3 separate regions of the Homo sapiens genome follow, and all the other regions are linked to region 3. The links are contacts of gene promoters, found by promoter capture Hi-C in blood cells and fetal thymus (Javierre and others, 2016). All regions are on one chromosome and are shown on one strand. The core of a region is centred on a gene start or on the middle of the fragment in contact, and the rest is flanking DNA. Distances in the headings are between cores, read along the strand shown. Region 1 holds the start of LINC02090 (long intergenic non-protein coding RNA 2090). Region 2 overlaps MPRIP (myosin phosphatase Rho interacting protein). Region 3 holds the start of FLCN (folliculin).

Region 1 (3,435 bases), core at 217-2,716, 250 kb before region 3:
CCAGAATTGTGAGGTTGGGTCTAAAACTAAGACAGGCCCTAAGTACCCGGAGTCATCCTTGACTTCTCTTTCTCTCCCTGTCTCCTTCCCTTCCACCAATCCATTAGCAAACACTGTTGGCTTTACGTTCAAAATATGACCAAAATCATCTGAGCACTTACCACCTTCAGGCCTGCTTCAAGCCACCCCCTACCAGCCCCTTCTCAGAGGCCCCCCCACCCCCAGGTGCCATGTACTCTGTTAGCACCTGAGCCACAGCTGAGCCCTCCACTGCCCAGGAACCTCTGCCACTCCCCAGCTGCTCTGACTAAACACTGGATCTTTATAATGGCCCTGGGCCTTGAACCTGGGCCTTCTCTCCCTGAGCCCTCTGCCACTCTCCCCTGCTCACACCAGGCCAATGCTGACAACTTCCCCTCTGTGCTGTTCCGCTGCCTGGAATGCTCTCTGCCCAGATGTGTGCTTGGGTGACTGCTTGCCTCCCAGGAAGCTTGCCCAAATCTTGCCTCCTCAGTTAGGACAGCCCCGGCCATTCATCTCAAAGGCAAGGGGCACAGAGTATGGGCTCAGTACACGTATGGGGGAGGAGGGAGGGAGGGAGGTGGAGAGGGAGGAGGAGGAAGGGAGGAATGCACAGGCCATTTCATTCCAGCGAGAACAGGTCACAAGGCACACCCAAAAGCAACCCGGGTGGTACAAAACTAAAGATGACCGAAGGCCACCATGAACAGGCGGGAGAGGGCAGCTCTGTTCATCACCCCTGGGGCAGATGTGGAGACTCCAGATGTGTCACATCTGGACAGCCCCTTCTCTGCCCCTTCCTACCCCCTGCCCCGCCCATCCACCAGGGGTTCAAGACAATACAGGAGACAGTTGTCCTCCTCCCAGGACCCTGAGAATGGCTGGGGCTGGGGAAGATGCTCAGTGGCCTTTGAAACTCAGCTTAATTTTGCGCCAAACGGGTGACCCTGCCACCCCCATGAAAAGGCAGAGCACTAGAATGAGAGTCCAGACTATGGACTCTAGTCCTCTTGATGTCCCAAGCTCAGCATGTGACCTCAGACTAGGCACTTAGCCTCTGTGGGCCTCAGTTTCCCCTTCTGTCCAAATCAGGGGGGTTGGAATGTGGTCACCCAACTAAAAGCCCACTCTATACACTGAGCGTCTACAAATACAAGGAACACAGAGTTGATTTGTTAGGAAACCCATCACGTCCATCCTGACCTAGATGGGTTTCACTCTGACGTTGTGCAGTCAAATGCTCTACCCCTGAGCTACACCCCCTACTCTGACGTTGTGACCGCTGCACCTGGGCTGATTGTACCCCAGACCAGGGGCAATGTCACCTGGCACCACCCTTTCCCACTACTCTTCCCTCTCGAGAGAGACTGGGGTTTCACACAGAGCAGTCGAGCCCCATAAATAGCAGCTGGCCACTCACAGGCCAACCCTCCCAGGCCCCAAAAAGGAAGTGAGAGACAGGCAGACACTTCTGTTCTTCCTGCAGAAAGTGCTGCTTCTGCAGTGACTCGTCAGATGCTCCCCAGAGCCCAGCACAGACCCGGCTCCACCCACTTCTGTGGGTTGGCCAGATGAGTGAGAAACACAGGCACAGCCAACGAGAGGGAGCTGAGGCCGGACCCAGGAGTCTTTTTCCTATGGTAGGGGATATCTCTGTGTGAGGAAGCCCCATGGGGAGTCCTTGGGTGAGTTGCCAGGAGGAGGTGACTCAGGATAAATTCCCTTAGGAGGTGCCTTCACTTCTAGATCCAAAGAGTCATCCCCTACCTCCTTAGGGTAAAACTAGATTTTGAGTATCACGGTGTTTGTGGATAACCTGGCCCCAGTGAGTCCCCTTGCAAGGGCCTTTGGAGATGCTTCTGCACATGGACACTAGGAGCCATGAGCAGAGACAGTCCCTGCAGCAGCATCTGAAACCATGAACCCCAGGAAGACAACGTGGCACTGTTTTTGTCAGCCCTGCCTACGCTTTGCTAAAGTCTGTCCATTCAGCTCTTTTTCATGTTGACCGCACCACTGTTTCCTGCCCAGGTCCTGCCTGATATAGTAACCGGGAAAGGGATGAATGTGATGCAATGTGCTCTTGTAATGGAGCATCACAGAACAGGTCAAAGACACAAGCCACACAGCAACGAGCGCGGACAGGCAGGGCAGAGCACAGCTGCACGTAAGTACATTTTAAACACGGACCCCAACATAGCACTAGACATTGTTCATAATGCCTCCCTACATATGTAAAACACAAAAGTGGATTGGAGACACACAGAGGGGAGACTGCAGGCACCTCAGCCTCTCATCCCTCTTCTCATCAGGCCATTTCTGCTCTGCACCAGCGGTTCTCAACCAAAGTGCTTCTGCCTTCACTGTCAGGAGACATGTGGCCATGCTGGGGACATCTGGGGTGTCTCAATGATGGGGGTGGGAGGGATTGCTACTGGCATCTGGGGGTAGAGGCCAGGGATGTTCCCAACCATCCTAGGATGCAAGGGACAGCCCCACCACAAAGCAGGTGTGGCCCCAGCTCGTTCACAGCTGTCTACTTCCTCCTGGCGTAGCTGTGCAACTTGTACAACCACAAGCAACACGTATTTGTTTTACAAGGAACTCACTGGAGACAGCACCCAGTCTGAGAACTTTGTACTATGGAAGGGTTTTGTTTTTGAAAACCGAAATTACAGAATAAATTACAGAGAGAGAGAGAGCAAGAGCGAGAGCGAGAGAGTAAGAGAGAGAGAGAAACTTCACCATATGGGTTCAAATGAGCAACCTGGGTATTCTTGGCTCCTGGTGGAAAGGGAGGTGCTAATCTCAGGTGGGCCCACCTGCTGTGGCATGGGGCTTGGTTTTGAGCTGCTCCTTCCACTCCTGGCACAGGAGGAGCAGATGTTTAGGGCGGCCACGTGACTAACTGGGCAGCCAAGACCAAGACTCCTGTGCACGCTGAAACTCACGTTCTCAGTGGAAAGGAAAGATCTGCTGACCGCTCACTCAGGATGAGGGGTGTGGTGAGTCAGCCGTGGGGCCTCTGTGTGGCCCAGACCAAACAGCTGGTTTTGGGCATGGCAGAAGTCAATGAGGCAAGGCCCTGATGGGTAGCGCTGACCTGAGTGCTACCTGGCTAAAGCCAAGGAGGAGCCATGCGGCAGAATCCGTTCATGCAGCTCGCATGCTACAAGTGGCTGCTAGTGTCTTGTGGAGATTTAAACTTAAAATCTTGCTTCTCAGCCCCATCAGGTACATTTCAGGTGCTCAGCAGTGCACTTGTGCTTTGTGGCTGCCTTCTGGACAGCATGGATGCAGACCGCCTCCAACCATCCCAGAAAGTTCCATCACAGGCACTGAGCCAAAACTGGCCATGGTGATGGAGCTGCCAGGAGGGCGAAGCCCAATCTCACTTTGGTCAACATGGTCAAC
Region 2 (3,538 bases), core at 80-2,579, 140 kb before region 3:
CAGAAGGGCTTGGGATGAGGGACTCAACTTTTAGGATGCAGACTTTCTTGGACTTTTCCTGCTGTTAGTCCTTCACCCCTACTTCCCCTGCCCCCTCAGCTGTGCCTGCTGCCCCTGACTCTAGGGGCCCTCCTAGGGCAACCCTCCGTGCTGGTCAGTATATAGGATTCTCTGGCCAGAGCCAAGCCCTGGGATCTGCCTGCCCTTGTACGGGTGCTGATCAGTTCTCCTGCTCTCAGCCCTGCCCCTGCTGTTGGAGTCCCCTCTGCCCCCAGGCCCTGAGCTTTCTGGTGTCTGCAGCAGTGCCAGCCTGCCTCCTCCTAGCTGTCCTCAGGAAGCTTCTTCCATGCCACCAGGCCACTTTCCATGTATCCAGCCACTTCCCACTCAAAGTTTACTTGATATCTTATATCTGCTCTTGTCTCCTCTCCAGCTTTTCATCCTTGAGAGTTTATACCTCCCCCCCACACACACTTTATGGTCATATTAATTAGGGTTTTAGCAGGCAATTGAACATTCTGGTGTGTTAAGTCACCTGTGTTTAACTGGAGGCCCCTCTGTGTGTCAGGAACTGGCCCGCAGCCTGTCGACACGTGTTGGTGTCCATCATGGGCATATCGTGCCTGCCTTGTACCCACCTGTTTCCATGCCACTGTTCCCTGTCCTTTCCCACACTGTCCCCTGTGTGGGTCATATTGTTGGTCTGGGCCTGTGTAGCTCTTTGTGCTTGGCAGGGTGTGTGTGTGTGCAGGGTGTGTGTGTGTGTGTGTGTGTGTGTGTGTGTGTGTGTGTGTGTGTGTGTGTGTCTCAGAGTCAATGCACATGCCTGCCAGGGGACCTGTGTGTGTTGGCATCCTGCATTAAATGTACCATCTATAATTTGCTCCAGTACCTTGGAGAAAATTTTATGAGGAAAAGATACTTTCATAAATAGTTGAAATTCCAGATTCTTCTGGTTGGAAACCCAAGGGTTAATGATGACTGTTGTTCCAGAAAGGTTGGAGGGAGAGGAGACAGTTTATCTCATTTCCCTCTGGTGAATAAGGCCATTTACTGATGGGGCCCAATCACCTACCTGGGACTAACAATAAGACCCTTGTTGTTGACTGGGCAGGTTCCACAGCTGATACTCCGGCTGCCTTGAGCAATACCATCAGGCAGATCTGGGGCTCAGCCCTGTCCTTACCCAGGGCCTCAGAGCACTAATATATTTTCCTTTTCCTCACTCCAGATGTCTTCCCAGTGACTCTCCTTGGGGCCTGGGGAAACCACAAGGGAGCTTGGATTCATTCACCCATTGCTGCCTTGCTGTGTGCCTCAGAGGGGCTCAGAGGTGGAAAATAAATATGAAAAAGCATCCTTGTCTTCTAGAATCTCGTCGGCTGCTGGGAAGACCAAGGGGCCAGCCATCGCAGGGAGCATAAGCACTGAGACAGGCACACGTGCCTGCCCGGCTATCGTAGCCAGGCTGGCAGCCTTGCAACTCCCTGGGGAAGAACAATCTAGGAACATTCTGGGGTGTGGAGCAGGAAGGGAGTGTCACATGCAAAAGGCAGGATCAGCCAAAGCAGAGGGGCTGAAGAAGCAGTGATTCCCCCACCTAATGTCAGAAGTAAAATCAGTTCATGGTGAAAATTTGGGGAAACAAAATCATGCAGCAAAATTGCCTATTAAACCCCACACGGAGGTAAAAATCGGTTCATATTGTGGTTATGTATCTATTCTCTTATGATGTGTATTTATGTGCTTATGTAAGACCTAAAAACAATAATTTTTAAATAAACCAGTTATTTTTAATAAGAATATTCTGGCCAGGCATGGTGGTTCATGCCTGTAATCCCAACACTGTGGTAGGCCAAGGTGGGCGGATCGCTTGAAGCCAGGGGTTCCAGGCTGCGGTGAGCTAGGATTGCACTACTGCACTCCAGCCTGAGTGACAGAGGGAGACCCTGTCTCTTAAAAAAACAAAACAAATTCTATCTCACAATTCCTTTCCTATCCTTCTATGCATGGTCTTTAATAGCTACACCCCATTCCATTGGGTGGCTGTATTTGATTCCTTTATTCTGTACTTTCGGACATCCAAGTTGTTTTCAGATTTTTACTTTTTTAATATGATGCTTCAGAGAACATTCCTGGAAGTAATGTTGCCAGTGCAGAGGTGCAAGCATGTTTGAGACAGCTGATAGTTACCTCTGTCCAGAACTGGCTCACTCCCAACAGCAGCAGGAGGCACCCAGGGTCTCTCACTTTCCTTTCAATTTTCCTTTCTCCACATCCTACCCCCAGATTTGTCTGACTTTTCCAGAGGCTATTGAGAGAAGCTTTTTGAGTGAGGCACCACACAGATGTTTAAGACTAAGTTTGTGGTCTTTGAGAACCGAGGTAGCCTGACCCATTGGAAGCCTGCAGATAATTGAAAAAATCTTATTTTAGATCCTGTGTCATTCTTCTGCTATCAAACCAGAGCCAGCAGCAAAGGAAGCTGGGGGTGATGGGCCTTCATCCACCTGCCATGTTGCCTCCCTGCGCTGCTTCTGCCAAGAGTGGGCTGCTGGGGGTGTCCTGCTGGGGCCAGGCACCAGGGTTCCAATGCCAAGTAGTGGCATTCACGCACCTTTTGATAAGCGAGGAAACCGCTGGCAGCAGGAAGAAAGGTAAAGCAGCTCCAGGGAGCTCAGCGCTCAGCCTCAACCTCTTTCCCCAGAACCTGCGCCTGCCCACTCCACCTCCAAGGCCCCTCACTCTCCACCACCCATTTGGCCTTTTGGAATTGGGACTGGAATTGTTTCCAGCTCCAGAAGGCCCCTGCCTGCCTAATTCCCATGTCTCTAAAAATATCTGCAAGCCTCTTCCCACCCAGGCCTGTCCCCACAGAGCCCACTTCTCTCCCCCGACCCTCGGCTAGGGGAGGAAATGAGATCTCCCTCTCTTGACAGGATTAGAACGGAATAAATACGAAAGGCTGAGTTTCCAGAGTTGAAAGGGTAGGGCTGCCTTTGTCGGGTCCGGAGGGCTGGCGTGGCATCGGTGCAGGCCCACACTCGGAGGAGGGAATCCAGGAGAAAGAAGGAAGGGGAAAAGAGCAAGAACCCCTTTCTCCCCTCTGCATATGGGATGGCCAAGAGAAGCCAGGCCCTGCTGTGGGTCCCCGGTGGGAAAGAAGCTGGCTCCCAGGGCTCCCAAGCCCCAGCCACGCCTGGTCAGCACAGGCAAAAGGAGTCTGTGGGAAGCCTCCAACCTCCAGGCTGCCTGAGGCCCCTGGAGCTTTCTCAGGCATTCCTAGATTGGGACAGAGCCTCAGACCCCTCCCTGCCCCACCCCCCAGCATTGGATGCCTGCCTAATAGAGGCTTTATTTATCTCCACATTTTCCCAGCTCTGTATAAAGAGACAAGCACGTGGGTGAGGCCTACAGATATTCCAAAAGCAGGGGGTAGTGGGGTGGGGGATGAAGAATACGCAAGGATCTGCTTCCACCATCCCCTAGAGGGGCTTTGGAGGGAGGAGGGTGGGCTAGGGCAAAGGGTCGATGTGCA
Region 3 (3,158 bases), core at 308-2,807:
ACCAGCCAGGTGACACCAAGTGTTACTAGACCTCTCTGAATACCACCCAAAAGCTGAGAAACAGAGGCCTCTCAGAATTCGCATTACACATGGAATCAGAATTCTGGGCAGCGTGAGGTCATTCTTCACTCACTGTTCAATTCCAATCTCTACCAGGTGTTTGCTGAAGAAAACAAACTGGTTTGAGTGTGTCTCACGAGTCTGTTTCCAACAAGCTTTCCAGAACCCACATAGGAAGCCGAAATGCCCTGGCTGACAGTCTCTTCATCAACATATCCAAAGACAGTATTCAAATTCCCTGATGTGGTAGAGTGTCTGTTCATGTCCCCCTCCCACAATGGCTGAGTCCCAGACCTGGACAGTGACCTCACCACCACCCGTGGTGCGCCCTGGCCCTATTTCAACCCTACTTCCTATGGTGTTCTCATAGCACCGTGGAGAATTAAAGAGGCCACTAAGTAAGGGCACTCTAAATAAACAAAGCACTATAACGGATCTTAACCAGCAGTGGACACACAGCTTCTATAACTAGTCTCCCACTGGGGAGCCTCATTAAGTTAGCAGCTGGGATCCCAACAAGCCCAGGGTGAAAAGTTCTGCAGGGGATGACTGCCAGTTCAGATCCACTCTCACTGTGGCTCTATTTCCACCGTTTCCCTGGATTTCCATTCACAGAGCTCCCTGACATAGGACACTAGAAGGGCAAACGCAGTGTCACCTGCCACTATTACTCAATTACTTGATGACCACGGTGATAATCTGGCACTAAACTGGCTGTGGCCAAAGGCTAGAGAGCCAGAACCTACTTCCAGCAAGCTCCTCCTTGCCCTGTGTCCCCACTTGAAGAGACTGCTAGTGACCACACCTTGGACTTCAATCCACAAGCCAATCCATTCTTTCCAGGAGACAAGGACGCGACTGACAGTACTCTCAACTGGAGAGAAGCGCGGTCTTCCACCCTCCCTGGAGGACACGGTGCTACCCTATTAGCGCATCAGAGGACCCTCCTGAACGCCAAACTGGGAGAAGAGGATGACACACACCCTCTCCTCCAAACAGAGCGAAGACAAAACCTGGGAGAAGGGAAGGCAAACAGTCCCGTTTCATGGCAACATCAAATGAGATCACAGTCCTCATCCCCATAGACTTGGTTAATGGGCGTGCCCCCAACCTATCTTCAAATCTCAGGGTCTCGGCGACGCCCTGGACTCTGGCCCTAAACCCTCCCCCATTACTCGTCCACCTGGGACCAACGAAAACTCGGACATGCCCCTCCGCCAACCCCTCAGACCCCCGCCTACCTGCTCCCCAAATCGAGGCCCGCGGGACACCTGGACTCGGCAGCCGGGGTCCCGCTCTGGGTCCCAGCCCCGCCCCTGACTGCGCTGGGTAGGTGGTCGCTGCGGGACCCGGACCGGCGGAATCACACCCAGAGCCCCCAAGCCCACGGCAGGGATGTCACCCGGGGTGGCGAGGCTCTCAAGCCCGGGTTCAGGCTCTCAGGGGAGCTGGCAGAACCAGGAGCGACCACACTCACTCGCGGTCCCGCAGCCCCGCCGACACCCAGGCGCGTGACTCCCTGAGCCGTACCACCACCCAACACTGCGGTGGGGGTGCGGGAGCCGTCCGAGCGCGTCCTGCACCGCGAGGAGAGCCGGGCCTCCCTAGCTCTCGCAAGCCCAGGAACACAGTCCGAGTCCTACAACTCCGAGGTCTGACTGGGAAGCAGGGGCCGCTGCCCGACAATTACCCTTTTCCACCGCCCCTATTCCGGTGCCCCCCTCTGGGAAGTTCCGAATGGTTCAGACCGCACCAGCTGGGGATGCTGGGGGAAACCATTTCATTAAGCGCGGGAGTATGCTGAAACTTAAAAATCATTTTAAAAAGAGATTTGAGGGTAAATATAGCCAACCTAAGGCTTCCTGTCCACATAAAAGAGAAAAATAAAGAAAAAACGTTATAAGAGGTTGGCAGGCTTTTTTTTTTTGCTTCACCAATGGTTTTTATTAAATTGCTGATGGAACCCGTCCTCTCCCTACATTGAGAGTATGGAAGGTGCGGGAGACGGCCGTCACGTGACGCGGAGAAGGCGCGGCGCCCGTGGGAGGTTGGTTGCAGAACTCGGAACCGCTGTGCGCGCGCATGTGTGGGATTCGGTCTTCCTCCCTCAGTGGGTCTTTTTTAAAAATGTGAAAATCAGTTTTTGAATAATATTCTTTTTTTGAGACAGAGTTTCGCTTTCGCTCTTGTTGCCCAGGCTGGAGTCCAGTGGCGCGACCTCGCCTTACTGCAACCTCCGCTTCCCGGGTTCAAGCGATTCTCCTGCCTCAGCCTCCCGAGTAGCTGGGGACTACAGGCGTCCGCCACCACGCCTGGCTAATTTTTTGTATTTTTGCAGAGACGGGTTTTCACCCTTTTGGCCAGGCTGGTCTTGAACTCCTAACCTCAGGTGATCCACCAGCCTCGGCCTCCCAAAGTGCTGGGATTACAGGCGTGAGCCACCGCGCCCGGCCTGAATAATATTTTTTAAAACTAGAGCGCCCATTACTAAATTTAGCTACTTAGAAGTTAATTGTAAAGCCATTAGTTTGTGATGTAGTGTGGGTCCTTCCAGTGAAGACCGGAGAGAGATGGGAATCAGAGCCTGACCCGCCTGTGCGCGCTGCCCCCTGAGGTGTGGCTGCCCCCTGAGGTGTGGCCGCCCCGGAGCCTTCCGCCGCGGCCGAGGCTATGGTTGCCGCAGAGTCTCCAGAATGTGCTCACCAGGAATAGAATAGAAAAGTGGGTGGTTGTGTTTTTGAAATCAGAAGTCACTTATTTTTTTCTCTTTAAATTTCCATGTTCTGGTCGGGCGCGGTGGCTCACGCCTATAATATCCCAACACTTTGGGAGGCCGAGGTGGGCGGATTACGAGGTAAAGAGATGGAGACCATCCTGGCCAACAGGTGAAACCCCCTCTCTACTAAGAATACAAAAAAAATTAGCTGGGCGTGGTGGCACACGCCTGTAGTCCCAGCTACTCTGGTGGCTGAGGCAGGAGAATTGCTTAAACCCGGGAGGCAGAGGTTGCAGTGAGCTGAGATCGTGCCACTGCACTCCAGCCTGGCACAGAGCGAGACTCCATCTAAAAAAAAAAAAAAAAATCCATGGTCTGTTGA

Evidence for each region. The method cuts DNA at HindIII sites, captures the fragments that hold promoters and counts their contacts. A CHiCAGO score of 5 or more calls a contact.
Region 1: a contact is called between the fragment with the promoter of LINC02090 here and the fragment with the promoter of FLCN in region 3, in 16 of 17 cell types (naive B cells, endothelial precursors, total B cells and 13 more). The highest score is 12.5, in naive B cells.
Region 2: a contact is called between a fragment that was not itself captured here and the fragment with the promoter of FLCN in region 3, in 1 of 17 cell types (non-activated CD4 T cells). The highest score is 5.2, in non-activated CD4 T cells.

What each region holds. Positions count from the first base shown.
Region 1 is chr17:16,986,863-16,990,297 of GRCh38, forward strand. LINC02090 (long intergenic non-protein coding RNA 2090) reads left to right here and starts at 1,467. Exons shown (of 3, transcript NR_146886.1): 1 at 1,467-1,661; 2 at 2,053-2,188; 3 at 3,247-3,314. RefSeq lists enhancers at 127-957, 1,590-1,809. The HindIII fragment of the contact is 6,040 bases long and covers 489-3,435 here.
Region 2 is chr17:17,095,537-17,099,074 of GRCh38, forward strand. The region is part of intron 3 of MPRIP (myosin phosphatase Rho interacting protein); the gene reads left to right. Among named protein-coding and RNA genes, the nearest start is that of MPRIP, 55 kb to the left of the region's middle. RefSeq lists an enhancer at 152-738. The HindIII fragment of the contact is 1,986 bases long and covers 337-2,322 here.
Region 3 is chr17:17,235,611-17,238,768 of GRCh38, forward strand. It overlaps FLCN (folliculin), which reads right to left and starts at 1,558. Exons shown (of 14, transcript NM_144997.7): 1 at 1,302-1,558. RefSeq lists an enhancer at 1,775-1,884 and a silencer at 2,319-2,504. The HindIII fragment of the contact is 3,806 bases long and covers 214-3,158 here.